3 separate regions of the Homo sapiens genome follow, and regions 1 and 3 are each linked to region 2. The links are contacts of gene promoters, found by promoter capture Hi-C in blood cells and fetal thymus (Javierre and others, 2016). All regions are on one chromosome and are shown on one strand. Each heading gives the region's core, a stretch centred on a gene start or on the middle of the fragment in contact. The rest is flanking DNA. Distances are from core to core; before and after follow the strand shown.

What was found. The method cuts DNA at HindIII sites, captures the fragments that hold promoters and counts their contacts. A CHiCAGO score of 5 or more calls a contact.
Region 1: a contact is called between a fragment that was not itself captured here and the fragment with the promoter of MORC3 in region 2, in 1 of 17 cell types (erythroblasts). The highest score is 6.0, in erythroblasts.
Region 3: a fragment that was not itself captured here is called in contact with the fragment with the promoter of MORC3 in region 2 in 1 of 17 cell types (erythroblasts); the score reaches 5.5 in erythroblasts.

The regions. Positions count from the first base shown.
Region 1 is chr21:33,571,087-33,574,289 of GRCh38, forward strand. SON (SON DNA and RNA binding protein) reads left to right here. Exons shown (of 12, transcript NM_138927.4): 9 at 2,222-2,369. Among named protein-coding and RNA genes, the nearest start is that of DONSON, 16 kb to the right of the region's middle. The HindIII fragment of the contact is 3,711 bases long and covers 1-3,203 here.
Region 2 is chr21:36,318,448-36,321,659 of GRCh38, forward strand. It overlaps MORC3 (MORC family CW-type zinc finger 3), which reads left to right and starts at 1,750. Exons shown (of 17, transcript NM_015358.3): 1 at 1,750-1,856. The coding sequence starts at 1,818. RefSeq lists a silencer at 1,874-2,333. The HindIII fragment of the contact is 27,571 bases long and covers 1-3,212 here.
Region 3 is chr21:33,546,155-33,549,243 of GRCh38, forward strand. It overlaps SON (SON DNA and RNA binding protein), which reads left to right. Exons shown (of 12, transcript NM_138927.4): 2 at 59-225. Among named protein-coding and RNA genes, the nearest start is that of MIR6501, 3.0 kb to the right of the region's middle. The HindIII fragment of the contact is 1,749 bases long and covers 657-2,405 here.

The DNA of each region.
Region 1 (3,203 bases), core at 280-2,779, 2.7 Mb before region 2:
AAGCAAATTATTTTGATAAATTATGAGATAAAGATATGTTCAGACCAAATTTTAAATTATAGATAAAAGTAGCACTTAAAGGAAAAGATTCATTTGTATAGAATTACTGAAGAATATTTGATGCTAGTATCAACTAAAAAAGAAACTTTTGAAAATTAAAAATGGGCCACAACATGTAGAAGTCATTAGGCAGCTGAAAATTTAGGATGTATGATCCATGTTAAATATCACAAATATTGTCTACTCATTAAATGTTTAGTTGTGTTTAGAAAACCTGTCAAACGATCATTTTGGCTCTTCTTTAGTATAGTCCAGCATCTGCCTTATGTGTTAAAAAACACATGGAATACCAACATCCTCCGTGTTCTTTTTAGTTTGTTGCAGTGTATTTTTAGATTACAAAAAAAGCAAAGTTTTATCAGTAGTCTCATTAATCAGTAAAACATTTAAAGTAGTTCGTTTAAAAGAAATTTTATTTCTAGAATGGAATGATTTGGATGTGACCTGATAAATACAGTTTGTTATTGTGGTCTCATTAAATTAATCAGCTTTTTCACACTGGGGTAAAGAAACAGATGATGATACTAGGGAATGGAAACAAAATTGGAAACCTGGGTTATTTGGGGATTTATATTGTACTCTGCACAGTTGCCCTTTTTTTTAGGCGTGTTCCCTGGAAAAGAGGGACGGATGAACCTGGAAGTAAGTAAAAGACATTCTAGGTGTGTAGCATCAAGGCAGTTAATATCCAAGCATCAGCTTTCTCTTTATACATCTACACTGCATGGCCTGCACCAAATAAGGAACTGAACCAGGGGTATGTTTTTACCTCCACAGCTGCCTCCTTCCATCAGAGCACCTTGATGAACTTAATGTCTAGTCACACGTCATTGGCATGTTTTCTCCCCAGCATTTAATTACAAAGCTGGGAAACAAAAGATGATAGATACAGTTTTACTACTGCATACAAACATTTCTTTTTTACATTCAGTATTAACTTATCAATATAGGAGATGTGCATACTATTTCCTGAGCTACTGAAGTTTTTTTACTCTCTCTGTTGATAAGTTAATGACTTTTGCTATATTATATATTTATATATATATATATATATATATTTGGTAAGAGAACATAAAAACCTAAAATTTAGTAACAAGGGGAAAATAAAGCATGATTTGGAGATATGTTTCAAATTTTTAAAAAATGACCATAAAGATCAACAGTACAACTTAATACTGTTTGCTATATGTACATGGATGCCCTTTAATAAGAGGCATTGAATATTTCTTAACCTGTAAAAATAACTGTTGACCATGCTAATGTATATATACTTGTGCATCTTAGGACATTAAGTGGTTTGCTGCTTTGATGGAAATTATGGTTCAGTGGGTTGGATACAAGAGAGATGACTGTTCACAGAATAACCTGTGAACTTTCACCCCTCTGTATGGAAACTTGTTTCAGGGCCAAATCCTTGTAGCTGTCTTCTTGCCCCGGTCAGTGCCAGCCGTACTATTCACAACACTGCTGCTACCGAGGCCTAGGTATGTAAACATTTAAGGAGTTTTTTAAAAGTCTTTTAACATCAAGCTAGGTTTTAAAAGAATTCAAATTCATTTTGGCATACTTACAGGATATTTTATGTGATTGTTTTCTATTTGTTACTGTGTAAATTTCAAGAGTTTTTTTTTTTTTTTCTGCTTTAGGGATTTTCTAAGTAAAATATTTATACTTGCTTTATAGTAGAATGGGGAAGAAAACTTTGGATGACAACAGTATGCTTCTTCAGTGTCTAAACTATTTCTAAGTGATTTCTGGGCTTTATTCATAAACTAGGTACACCTGGGACAATTAATATCATTGATTGTTTTAACATTGCCTTCTTTTTATTTTGCAAGCTAAGAAGAGATACCAGTGAACCTAAATAGTGGACGAAAACAGGAGTGTTCTAATTTTTTTTTTTTGAGGGGGGCACGAGGGCTACTGTTTCAAAACTGCCATTTACTTGTCTTATTTGACTTCCAAAATACTATTACGTTAATGTGCAAATAATCAGAACATACACACTACAGTATGTATAAAGTATAGAGGAATTTACATTTAATTGCTATAACAGATCTAGAAGTAAAGTAAGATTCCTCTTTTTAGAAAGTAAACAATGAATCTGTCACCAAGTTCTAACTGTAAAATGGGGACATTTTACCTTTCTTTCTTTGGATAGGATCAGTTCTTAAGAGCAGCCCCGGTAACTGGAGGAATGGGAGCCGTTTTGATGAGAAAAATGGGCTGGAGAGAAGGAGAAGGATTAGGAAAAAACAAAGAAGGCAATAAGGAACCCATCCTAGTTGATTTTAAGACAGACCGAAAAGGTAACAAGTTCTTTTTTGGAATGTTTATTAACGTCTCCTTTAACATTACCTTTAATATATCCTTTTGAACCCAGTGATACTGAACTGAAGGCACTTCTTGTATATATACAGGTATTTGTCAGAAAAAACATTAACCCCTTTTGGGGTTCACAGAGCAGCTTATTTTTATATAACTATGGATAGAGACACCAGTTTGAACTTTTAAAAGGCACCTTTTGTTATGCTAGTTGCTAAATATGGAAATGTGTATATATCTAATTTTATTATTACACCTCCAAATTCAACTGGATTTCATGTTTAGAAAACAGGATTTCCATTTTATTTTCTCTTGACAAGGAACCATCCTTTTTTCTAGAGTTTAGTTTATTTTTTGTTAGATATTTTAGCACATCTTCATTATTTCCTATTACAATACTGGTTTAGTCTAGATTTCATAAACCCTGTTTGCTTTTTTCTTCCAAGCTCAGTAGTTAAGTTGGGTTAGAGTATAGTAGACCAGCTGCTGACAATAATGTTACTTCTTCCTGTTGCCTTGTGTTAAGGCATCTTGGAACTGTTAGCATTGACTGTATTTTCCTTTTACCTTCAGATACCTGGGCAGGGCAGCACTGTGTCTTCTATGTAGCTTGTATGTAGTTGCTAAGTATTTAATCATTCCCACAGATGATAGCTAATTGGCGTCTTTTAAATAACTTCTTCCCTTGGAATAATGTAAGTGGAATCATGAGAGGCTTGCCAGCTCAGTATGATTTTTGTATAGCTTGTTTAAACCTCATTTATAAAAGCTGACAAATGTAAAACTGGGATTTATTTTCATCTTTGTAATCAAACAGT
Region 2 (3,212 bases), core at 500-2,999:
AGCGAGACTCGGTCTCCAAAAAAAAAAAAAGAAAAAAAAATCCATTCTCTTTTGTTTCTTTTTCCTTTTTGAGACGAGAGTCTCGCTCTGTTGCCCAGACTGAGTGCAGTGGTGAGAACATGGCTCATTACAGCCTCAGTCTCCCAGGGTCAAGTAGTCCTCCCCACCTCAGCCTCCCAAGTAGCTGGAACCACAGGCGTGCGCCCCCAAGCACAATTAATTTTTTTTTTTTTTTGAGATGGAGTTTCGCTCTTGTTGTCCCGGCTGGAGTGCAGTGGTGTGATCTTGGCTCACCGCAACCTCCACCTCCTGGGTTCAAGTGATTCTCCTGCCTCAGCCTCTCCAGTAGCTGGGATTACGGGCATGTGCCACCACACCCGGCTAATTTTGTATTTTTAGTAGAGATGGGGTTTCGCCATGTTGGTCAGGCTGGTCTCAAACACCCGACCTCAAGTGATCTGCCCGCCTTAGCCTCCCAAGGTGCTGGGATTACAGGTGTGAGCCACCACGCCCTGCCAGCTAATTCAATTTTTTTTTTGTAAAGATGAGGTCTCCTCGTGTTGCCCAGGCTCGTCTCGAACTCCTGGGTTCAAGAGACCCTCGCAATGTAGCCTCTCAAAGTGCTGAGATTACAGACATGAGCCACTGCACCCAGCCAATTTCTCTTTCTAAAAATAATTAATTTTTTTGAGACAGTCTCACTCTGTCGCCCAGGCTGGAGTACAGTGGCGCGATCTGGGCTCACTGCAACCTCCTTGTCCTGGGTTCACCCACTTCTCCTGCCTCAGCCCCCCGAGTAGCTGGGATTACAGGCGCCCACTAATATGCCCAGCTAATTTTTGTATTTTTAGTAGAGATGGGGTTTCACCATGTTGGCCAGGCTGGTCTTGAACCCCTATCAAGTGAACCCCCAACCTCGACCTCCCAATGTGTTGGGATTATAGGCATGAGCCACTGCACCGGCCTTATGCCTTTAGGACTCTTATTTATTTATTTTGAGACGGAGTTTCACTCTTGTTGCCCAGGGTGGAGTGCAATGGCGCAATCTCGGCTCATTGCAACCTCCGCCTCCTGGGTTCAAGCATTCTCCTGCTTCAGCCTTCCGAGTAGCTGGGATTACAGGCATGTACCACCACGCCCGGCTAATTTTGTATTTTTAGTAGAGATGGGATTTCTCCATGTTGGTCAGGCTGGTCTCGAACTCCCGAAGTCAGGTGATCCGCCCGCCCACCTCGGCCTCCCAAAGTGCTGGGATTACAAGCGTGAGCTACCGCGCCCGGCCCCAGAACTCTTTTTTTTTTTTTTAAATCATGAGTTAGATTGATAGTTTTCAGGGCAAATCCAAACAGTCTACATTAATTTCCGTCTTTATTTCGTTAAGGTTTCACATGGACACTGGTGGATATGGAATGGCTTTTTTCTGCGCAATTCACATCCGACCAGGTCAAGTGACTGGAGTTCACCGGTCTCGGGTATACCGCATCTCGCGCCAGGCTTCAAACTCTAGATCCCCGAGTCTCGAGCTCCAGCTGGGTGTCGAGACGGGTACGGGCCGGCCGCGCCTCGCGCATGCGCCCTAGGCCCGCAGGGCCCCGCGCTGGAAGCTCAGCTCCCACTGTACCCTGCTTTAACCAGTCAGGCAATTCATCTTCCCCAAGCTCCCAATTCGGCATTGCCTGGAGGCGGAAGTGGGTGGGAGGGGCCAGACGTGCGCCCCTCCCCGGAAGTGGGCGGTACCCATAGGGCTCCACAGTCGTTCCGCCACCTCCCAGTCGGGTTGCGGCGGAGGCCGTTCCTGGCTTTGTAGCTCGCTCAAGATGGCGGCGCAGCCACCCCGCGGGATACGCCTCAGCGCGGTGAGCAGCCGCGAGGGGTGGAGCGGGCCGTGTCCCAGGAGGGCGGGCGGGCAAGCGAAGGGGGGCCGGCAGTGGGCGGTGGCGGCTTGTGGGGCCGACGCGGCGGCGGGGGCTGCGGCGGGGCCCGGGGAGGGGGCGGCCATCTCGCTCCCGTCGGCGGAACAGCTCGGCTGCGGGCCGGGCTGCGTTCCGTCGCCTCTGCATTGTGTTTCTGTTTTGCTTCGGGGCGGGCCAGGGTCGCGGCTCCTCCTCCCAGCTCCCTCCTAGTCTCCCAGCAGCTGTCGTCCGCGGGCGAGGCCTCGGCGGGAGATCGGTCTGCTCTCGGGGCCGCGGGGCCCCTGACCCTCTTCTGTCCGCTGGGCGTCGTGGTGGGAGGGAGCGGGTTCCGCGTCCAGAAACGCCGGCGGCCTCGACGTCCCGGGGGCGGGGGGACGGGGCTGCGGGCCTGCCTGCGGGCGAGTGGAGTCAGGATGAGTGTGCCTGATGCCTGTCAGTGCCTGCAGCTTCCTTGGCAGTGGAAGCCTTGGGGCCCAGACCCTAGATCGCTGAGCTCGAGCTCTCCTCTTTATCCCGCGTTGCGTCTGTTTTGGGGCGTTTCGAGTTCTTGGAAACCCTGTGAACATTTCTTGTATCTTAAATCGTAGGGAGCGGTCACACAAGATAACTTGAAATCTCACGTCCAGGAAATGTGGGCGTGGCTTCCCCACCTGATTATCCTAAAAAACTTTTCTACCTTGTGAGCGCAGTTGATGTTATGCTGAAATGTTCCTCTTTTCTGGAGGTTGTTGACTTTTGCCAAAGAATGACTGCCCTAGTGCCACTAATTTTAACATTCGAATGGGTAGTGACTCCTTGGGGTACAAACACGTAGTGAATAATTGGTGCATTGCTCTGGGACTTTCATTCGTTTAGGCAGATTCTAACACCTGGTTTTGACGGACTTTAAATTTTTTCTAGTCCGATATTTGTGAAATGATATTTGCTTTTACTTGCGTTTCCTTGACTGTTTGTGTTGTTGAGCTCTTCGCATGTATTAGTCTTTGTGGTTTTTTGTTTTGTTTTTTTGAATTGCCTATTCATATCCTTTGACCATTTTCTGTTTTTCTTTTGGGAGGATCTTTATTGATTTGTAAGAGTTCTTTACGTATTCTGGATAAAGGTCCATCCTTTCGTTATGTAACTAGCTTATTGAGTGAGCTAGGCTTTAGTAGTTTGAAAATAGAGGACAATTTTATTCTTTTTTTCTTTTTTTTTTTTTTAACCACTGAGTGTAAACATTAATTATTCCCCACTTGTGTGAATCTGGGTTGACTAACGCTTTCCCATTAGCTTAAGGTATTGTAAAGTCTGGCCTTA
Region 3 (3,089 bases), core at 281-2,780, 2.8 Mb before region 2:
TTTTTTTATTAATGGTATGATAAAATATTAATGAATTTCGATAACTTTTCATGTCAAGTGGAAGGAATGAAGGCCAGCTGAATGGTGAAACAAATACACCCATTGAAGGAAACCAGGCGGGTGATGCAGCTGCCTCTGCCAGGAGTCTACCAAATGAAGAAATAGTGCAGAAGATAGAGGAAGTACTTTCTGGGGTCTTAGATACAGAACTACGATATAAGCCAGGTAAGTTGGAGATAATTAACTGTCTCAAAAATTTTCTTTTAAGATTTTTTTGAAATTTGAAGGTTAATGTTAGTTTTTGACTTCAGTATTTAAGATATTTATTAAATTAAAAACTTTAGGCTGGGTGCGATGGCTCACGCCTGTAATCCCAGCACTTTGGGAGGCTGAGGTGGGTGGATCACCTGAGGTCAGGAGTTCCAGACCAACCTGGTCAACATGGAGAAACCCCCATCTCTACTGAAAATACAAAAATTAGCCGGGTGTGGTGGTGGGTGCCTGTAATCCCAGCTACTTGGGAAGCTGAGGCAGGAGAATCGCATGAACCCAGGAGGCGAATGTTGCAGTGCGCTGAGATTGCGCCATTGCACTCCAGCCTGGGCGACAAGAATGAAACTCCATCTCAAAAAAAAATTTTTTTTTCAGTAAATTTAAGCTTTTGTTTAATTGATTTAATGAAGACTTTCTTGTTTAAATTTTCCTTCCATACTTCCACTGGAAAACAAACATTGATGTACTTGTTTACTCTGCTGGTAGAATATAATTTTTATTTTTGACTTAGTTTCAGTTTATTTGATTCAGTTTCTTTTTCTTTTCTTTTCTTTTTTCTTTTTTTTGAGACAGTTTCACTCTTTTTGCCCAGCCTGGAGTGCAATGGCGTGATCTCGGCTCACCGCAACCTCCGCCTCCCAGGTTCAAGTGATTCTCCTGCCTCAGCCTCCCAAGTAGCTGGGATTACAGGCGCCTGCCACCATGCCCGGCTAATTTTTTTTTGTATTTTTAGTAGAAACGGGGTTTCACCGTGTTGGCCAGGGTGGTCTGGTCTCGATCTCTTGACCTCATGATCCGCACACCTTGGCCTCCCAAAGTGCTGGGATTACAGGCGTGAGCCACCGCGCCCGGCTTGATTAAGTTTCTTAGTATCAGGAATTTGAGTATGGATTTTTATTAAACAGTTGTGTAAAAATACCCATCCCACTTAAACTGCAGTGGATGGAGAGGAATCATTGCTTGAATATTTAGCGTTTTTGGAATTGATTAATTGATGTTTAGAAATGAAGGATTTAGCCACAAAAATAACAGTCATTACCTTGATTTAGTTCTGGAATCAAGTTTGTAATATGGTTGGTTTGTCCTCTTTTTTGGGGGGAACTTTAGCTGTGCTTAGATTCATGACTCTCAAACAGACTTGCTTAGATTCATGGCTCTAACAACCTTCATTGAAGTATGACTTATCTAACATTTTGTATTATGAAACAAACAATTAATAGAAAATGGTAAGTTTTGCTTTGGCCTATGTCAAGTGTTGATTTATTTTCTTCTGTAGTCTTTTTTTTTTTTTTTTTTTTTTTTTTTGAGACGGAGTCTCGCTCTGACGCCCAGGCTGGAGTGCAGTGGGGTGATCTCAGCTGACTGCAAGCTCCGCCTCCCGGGTTCACGCCATTGTCCTGCCTCAGCCTCCGGAGTAGCTGGGACTACAGGCGCACACCACCACGCCCGGCTAATTTTTTGTATTTTTTTTTTTTTTAGTAGAGACGGGGTTTTACCGTGTTAGCCAGGATGGTCTTGATCTCCTGGCCTCGTGATCCACACGTCTTGGCCTCCCAAAGTGCTGGGATTACAGGCGTGAGCCACAGTGCCCGGCCTTTTTTCTGTAGTCTTAATGGCTCAGATTTCTGATGAGCTTTTTTGGGGGTCCCTAAGATTTATCTAATTTGATATTGGCATTAGAGTAAATAAATCCCATCTGGTTGTTAAAGTTGAATACTCCCATCTCTTTAGGGTATGTAAATTCAAACCTTCTTAAGTTGTAAATTAAGGACTAAGAATTTCCTCTCTAAAATCAGTATTCTTTTCTAAAATAGAAACATTTGAAAAGTTATTTATTAGTGGTTTTAGAATAGTATTGGGGGAAAATGTTATCTCTTTAGGGTATGTAAATTCAAACTTTCTTAAGTTATAAGGACTAAGAATTTCCTCTCTAAAATCAGTATCCTTTTCTAAAACAGAAACATTTAAAAAGTTATTTTAGTGGTTTCAGAATAGTATTGGGGGAAAATATTATTTTTATTAGAATGTAACGTAGGCATGATAAGGTAAAATTTGAGTTCTCTATGAATATTTTATATTTGTTATTCAGATATTTTTATACTCTGTAGAAGCAATCACTAACCTTTGTTGAAAGCTTATTCTGTGCCAGGCATTATTTGATGTACTTTGCATGTTTTAACTCACTTTATCCTCTAACTCTAGAAGACACAAGTGTGTCAGTAATTTGGCCAAGACCATTAACCTAGTAAGTGATGAACTGATTGAGGATTCAAAAGTGGCAGTCTGTTCCAGAGCCAGTGCCATGTTGCTTCCTGTATAAACAAGGGTTAATAATCGCAAAAATTATATTATGTGGGTATTTTTAATAGAAACTGTAGCAACTAATAACATGAAATATATTCAGTGACAAAAGTAGTTTAAAAGTAATTTTGCTATGATTTGAGAGCTGGAGGGAATAATTATTTTAATAGAATTTAGTGAAACATGTCTTAATGTAATTCAAAGTAAGTTTTGGTGTTTAATAATTTATTTTTAACCCAGGCATTAGTTGTGGAAAGAATTATCAGAAAAGTAGTAGTCTCCAGGTTAACTGTTTTATGAAAAATAGTTTATTTGGTAACTTTTAATTTAACGTGAGGTGTTATACTGTGGGGTTTTTTTTTTTTTTTGAGACAGAGTCTTGCTCTGTTGCCTAGGCTGGAGTACAGTGGTGCAATTTCAGCTCACTGAAACCTCGACCTACTGGGTTCAAGTGATCCGCCTCAGCCTCCCAAATAGCTGGGACTACAGGTGCGCGTCACCATGCCTGGCTAATT